2 separate regions of the Homo sapiens genome follow, and region 2 is linked to region 1. Evidence: promoter capture Hi-C in human tissues and cell types (Jung and others, 2019). All regions are on one chromosome and are shown on one strand. Each heading gives the region's core, a stretch centred on a gene start or on the middle of the fragment in contact. The rest is flanking DNA. Distances are from core to core; before and after follow the strand shown. Region 1 holds the start of DCAF15 (DDB1 and CUL4 associated factor 15). Region 2 overlaps LINC01841 (long intergenic non-protein coding RNA 1841).

What was found. Contacts are between HindIII fragments. The study calls those that stand out against the background at their distance.
Region 2: a contact is called between a fragment that was not itself captured here and the fragment with the promoter of DCAF15 in region 1, in 3 of the 25 tissues and cell types used here (dorsolateral prefrontal cortex, lymphoblastoid cells and spleen).

What each region holds. Positions count from the first base shown.
Region 1 is chr19:13,951,203-13,953,902 of GRCh38, reverse strand. It overlaps DCAF15 (DDB1 and CUL4 associated factor 15), which reads right to left and starts at 1,394. Exons shown (of 13, transcript NM_138353.4): 1 at 1,259-1,394. The coding sequence starts at 1,390. It also overlaps a transcript of PODNL1 not described here. RefSeq lists a silencer at 1,172-1,311 and an enhancer at 1,972-2,021. The HindIII fragment of the contact is 40,615 bases long and covers 1-2,700 here.
Region 2 is chr19:14,336,398-14,339,097 of GRCh38, reverse strand. All of the region lies in intron 1 of LINC01841 (long intergenic non-protein coding RNA 1841), which reads left to right. All of the region lies in intron 1 of LINC01842 (long intergenic non-protein coding RNA 1842), which reads right to left. Among named protein-coding and RNA genes, the nearest start is that of LINC01842, 4.0 kb to the right of the region's middle. RefSeq lists enhancers at 1-117, 118-618 and a silencer at 1,315-1,515. The HindIII fragment of the contact is 5,959 bases long and covers 1-2,700 here.

The DNA.
Region 1 (2,700 bases), core at 145-2,644:
CAAACAAGGGGGCTCCTCCTCCCCGGGGCAGCTCTGGCCTCTGCTGGGGGCCAGTCGAGGCAGATAGAAGGGTGAGCCTAACCAATGACCCAACGCCCCCTTCCCAATTAACTACCGCCTTCCAACGGAATCCAAGGGAATCCCTCATCCCCAAAACTTCACCGCGGAAGGATCTGCGGGGACTGACAGGCAGAAGCCAGGCACAGGGATATCCGAACAGCCTCAGTCTTGCTACCCAACTCTGCCTTCAAGACATTCCAATCTGATGGGAAGAGTCCTGTCTGGGAAGCTCCCTGTCTGATGGGAGACAGCCCTGTCCACATGGAGGTCTCAGTCTGACGGAGGAAACAGCCTGGCCAGCCAGGCCCAGGCCGACAGGGGAGACACAGTCCCTGCCCAAGGAGCTTCCAAGCTAAGGGCGGAACCACAGCCAAGCCCAGGGAGCTCCCAGGCTAAGGGCGGAGACTGTCCCAGCCCAGGGAGCTCCCAGTCAAAAGGGGGAGACACAGCACTGCCCTTACAAAGCTACCAGCCTCACGGAGAAGGCGCAGTCCCTGTCCACAGAGACACAGCCTTGCCCCAGTTACTGCCCACCTGCAAGAGATCCACATTTCTGCCCTCCAGAGCTCCCAAACTGATGGGGGAGAGAGACATCATCCCCCAGCTCTGGGAGTTTCCAGTCTGATGGAGGAGACAGAGCCTGCTTCGGTAACTCTCACTCTGCGGGGGAAGACTCAGCCCTATCCAGGGAGCTCCCACACTTTCAATGGGGAGGCCCACCCAGGTACTGGAACTCCCAGCTCATGTGTGGTCGGGGCTTGGGCAGGGAGAGGAACATCAGGCGGAGGAAGCCCAAAGCCAGCGGCAGGGGCTCTGCAAAGGGGGCGGGAAGGTTCCATTATGGAGCAACCATGGGAGCAGAGCTTTGAAAAGCCTGGATCGCCCCCTTCCTCCTGATTCTCCCTGCGGCCTCTGGGGTCGCCTCCCTCCGAGCCCCCTCCCTGGGGCCCCGCCCCCAACCCCCTCCATCCCAGCCCCTTTGCCGGTCACCCGACACAACCACCTGCATCCAGGCCCCCAACTGAGCCCCCTCCATCCAAGCCATCTCCCCCGGGCCCCGCCCAGGCCCTGCATCCGAGCCCCCTCCCCTGGGGCCCCGCCCCCAACCCCTCACCCCGCGAACGCCCTCCTCCCTCCGCCTCCCTCGTCCCTACTCCCCACCCTCCGGCGCGCTCCCCACTCCGGCTCCAGGCCTCACCTTGACCCGCTCCAGCTGCTTGAGGACGTGCTCCCGCCGCCGCCCTGCTGCCCGCTTCCCTCCGGCTCCCCCGGGGCCGCCGCCGCCGCTCCCAGCCCCGCTGTTCCGCTCCGATTTCGAGCTGGGCGCCATTTTCACCCCCTCCCTCCACTTCCGGAGCAACCGGCCCCTTCGCCCCACCCCTGCCGCCTCCTCATTGGTCCTTTTTCGGGACAGCGGCCCGCCGGTTGGGCGAAAGCCCGCACTCGCGCTATGCCTGTCCATCAAAGCCATCTCGACTCTTGATTGGTAGCGACAGTAACAGCCCCCGCGGCCCGTTGCCGTATTCCCGCCCCGCCTTAAGGACGTACCACTCGGAGGTCCCGTTTGTTCGCCCTGCCCAGATAACTTTGATCTGATAGGTGAATATCTCTGTCTGTCTCAACGGCGTCACGCCCCCTGTGGCTGGCGGGTTTCCATGGAGACCACAGGCGGTCCAGGCCCTTGGGCGGGGCGACGGGAGCCTGTGGTCCACCAAGGCTCGAGAATCCTCAGCCCCGGGCTGCCCGCGCCCGGTCCAGGTGGGCAAAGGCCTGACGAGCATACTTGGGCGGCAGAGCCAGGCCGAGGAAAGAGATTTACAAAAAAGGAAAAAACGATGGGATTCGATGAAAGCTTGTTTCCGATGGGCGGGTTGGTGGGATGATGGTGGTGATAATGATAGCATCAATCATGGATCGCTCCACATGTGACAGACACGGTTCTGAGCTTAAACAGTTCGATGTGGCAGGGCCCTGTTGTGCCAATTATGCAGATCATAGCAATAAAAATAATTGTTGAAGGTCCGCTCCGTGCATCATATTCGTATACATTACCTCATTTATTTTATTTTTTTAGACAGAGTCTCACTTTGTCACCCAGGCTGGAGTGCAGTGGCGTGATCACGGTTCACTGCAGCCTCGACCCCGGGCTCAGATGATCCTCTCACCTCAGCCTCTCATGTAGCTAGGACTACAGGCGTGCGCCACCACGCCTGCCTAATTTTTTGTATTTTTAGTAGAGACGAGGTTTCACTATGTTGGCCAGGCTGGTTGCGAACTCCTGACCTCAGGTGATCCGCCCGCCTAGGCCTCCCAAAGTGCTGGAATTACGGGCATAAGCCACCGCGCCCGGCCTAATTTTTTGTATTTTTTGTAGGGACGGAGTTTCACCAAGTTGTCCAGGCTGGTCTCCAACACCTGGGCTCAAGTGATCCTCCCACCTCTGCTTCCCAAAGTGTTGGGAGGACAGGTGTGAGCCCCCACCCCTGGCCAGCCCATTTAATCCTCTGAACAATCTAGAAGATAGTTTTTTTTTATTGTCTTCATTAAAAAAATTTTTTTTGTAGAGATGGGGTCTCACTATGTTGCCCAGGCTGCTCGAAAACTCCTGACCTCAAGGGATCATCCCGTCTTGGCCTCCCA
Region 2 (2,700 bases), core at 179-2,678, 390 kb before region 1:
GGAGGCGGTGAAACTCTAATTAGAATGAAAATGTAGTTTAATGAGGATGAAAACGGTAATTGTGCCAGGCAGCGCAGTTCAGAAGTGTCGCTTTCCCTTGGGGCACCTTGCTGGCCTCTGAGGCTCTGGGCATGGGTGAGAAGGACTCAGGGCTGGGAAGGCAGGGGATTGTCAGTGCCTCAGTTTCCCCCCAAAGTGTCCTCCCGCTGGCATGGGGTAAAGAGCCTGTGTAGAGCCCCACGTGCCCCTGGGGCTGGTTCCAGGTGCCCAGAGCAACGTTTTTCCATCCCACACTTTATTCCTATTAATAATACAACCATCCGTGGAACCATATCAGTGATGCCATTTATTGAGTGCCTACTATGTGCCAGGTACCATTCTAACCCCTTCACAGATGCTAACTCAGGTAATCCTTAAAATTATCCTCATTTTACAGATGGGAACACTGAGGCACAGATAAACCATTGACCCTGGTAGGGATATTTTAAAGAGCGGGTGAGGGCCGGGCGTGGTGGCTCACACCTGTAATCCCAGCACTTTGGGAGGCTGAGGCGGGCGGACCACTTGAGGTCAGGAGTTCAAGACTAGCCTGAAAAACATGGCAAAACCCCATCTCTACTAAAAATACAAAAATTAGCCGGAGGTAGTGGTGCGTGTTTGTAGTCCCAGCTACTTGGGAGGCTGAGGCAGGAGAATAGCTTGAACTCAGGAGGCGGAGGTTGCAGTGAGCCGAGATGGTGCCACTGTACTCCAGCCTGGATGACAGAGAAGGACTCCGTCTCAAAAAAAAAAAAAAAAAAAAGAGTGGGTGAGGAGAAAGGTGGAATACAGTAGCCAGGTGCCTCCTTCTTTCTTTTTTTTATTTTCTTTTTCTTTTTTCTTTTCTTTTCTTTTCTTTTTTTTTTTTTTTTTTTGAGACAGTCTTGCTTTGTTGCCCAGGCTGGAGTGAAGTGGTGTGATCTCGGCTCACTGCAACCTTCGCCTGCTGAGTTCAAGCGATTCTCGTGCCTCAGCCTCTTGAGTAGCTGGGATTACAGGCATACACGACCACACCGGCTGATTTTTGTATTTTTAGTAGAGATGGGGTTTTGCCATGTTGATCAGGCTGGTCTTGAACTCCTGGCCTCAAGTTCAAGATTTGCCTGCCTCGGCCTCCCAAAGTGCTGGGATTACAGGAGTGAGTCATTGCGCCCAGCTATCCTTTCTTTAACCAGGTGGGTGCTAGGGGCATGAAGGAATTGCCAGCCATCGAGGCCAGGGGATCTTCTCCCTCCTCCTCCCCCTGGCCCAGGATCCTCACTATTTCGGTTCTTCACTTCTTTTTAATGCTCTAATCACGCCTCTCTCTTTAATGCTCTAATCACACCTCTCCACTCGAAGGTGGGCGTGGCTAGACGATTGGTGGGCGTAGCTAGATGAGAGGGCGTGGTTTATGTACAGTGGGCATGGTTTGATACACAGTGGGCGTGGCTAGAAGCGCATTCTGCGTGGCAGAATTTACCAACCCATCTTAACTTGGAGGAATCAGAAACTGGAGCCATAGCAGTAAACTACAGAACCCAGACACAAAGCCGTGGCTTCTGGCCCCAGGGCCTGAGCTTTCTTGCCATGGAAAGCTGAAGGGTTCTTCAAGTGTTCTGGGTAAGACTGAGGTTCATAAGATCTCAAAGTCTCTGCTTTTGTTTCTGGAGGAACCGCCAATAAAATGCAACCTGCAATGAGGCCTAGACAGAAGAGAAATGTTCATTGAGGCCAGTTGGGCAATAAAAGGAGATCTAGCTGGAGTCCCAGATCAGAGGAGATAGCCAGCCTGGGCAACATAGTGAGACCCCATCCCTACAAAAATAATTTTTAAAAATTTATCTGGGCATGGTGGCACACACCTGTGGTCCCAGCTACTCAGGAGGCTGAGGCAGGAGGATGGCTTGAGCCCAGGAGGTTGATGCTGCAGTGATTGCGGTGAGCTATTATGGTGCCACTGCATTCCAGCCTGGGCAACGGAGTGAGGCTCTATCTCAAGAAAAAAAAGGAAAAGAAAAGATCAAGGGAGATTAGATTGTTTGCCACGTATATGGCAGACAAATCATTAAGAGCCTTAATATACAAAAAGCACATATGAATCAATAAGAAAAAAAAGACAAACATCCCAAATGTGAAATTGGCACAGGGCTTGAATAGGGGGTTCACAAAGGAGTGAGAGCTTAACAAACCTCTGTAAAGATGCTCAATCTGACCGTTCAGCTGAAGAATCACTTTTCCTTGTCAAGCTTATGAGTGTGTGTGAAGTTTTGGGAATGCACACTTGAGCACGGTCATGGGAGTTTAAATTGACACAACTTTTTTTTTTTTAATTTTTTGAGACAGGGTCTCACTATGTCACCCATGCTGGAGTGCAGTGGCACAATCACGGCTCACTGCAGCCTCAACCTCCTAGGCTTAAGGAATCCTCCCACCTCAGCCTGCCAAATAGCTGACTACAGGTACAGGTCACCACACCCAGCTAATTTTTTAAAAACTTTTTGTAACATGGGGTCTCACGACTTGCCCAGGCTGGTCTCAAACTCCTGATCTCAAGTGATCCTCCCTCCTCGGCCACCCAAAGTGCTAGGATTACAGATGTCAGCCACCGCACCCGGCCACGATACAACTTTCTTGGGATGGTGTTCTAGATATTAGTATTAAACCTTTAAGCATGTGGAT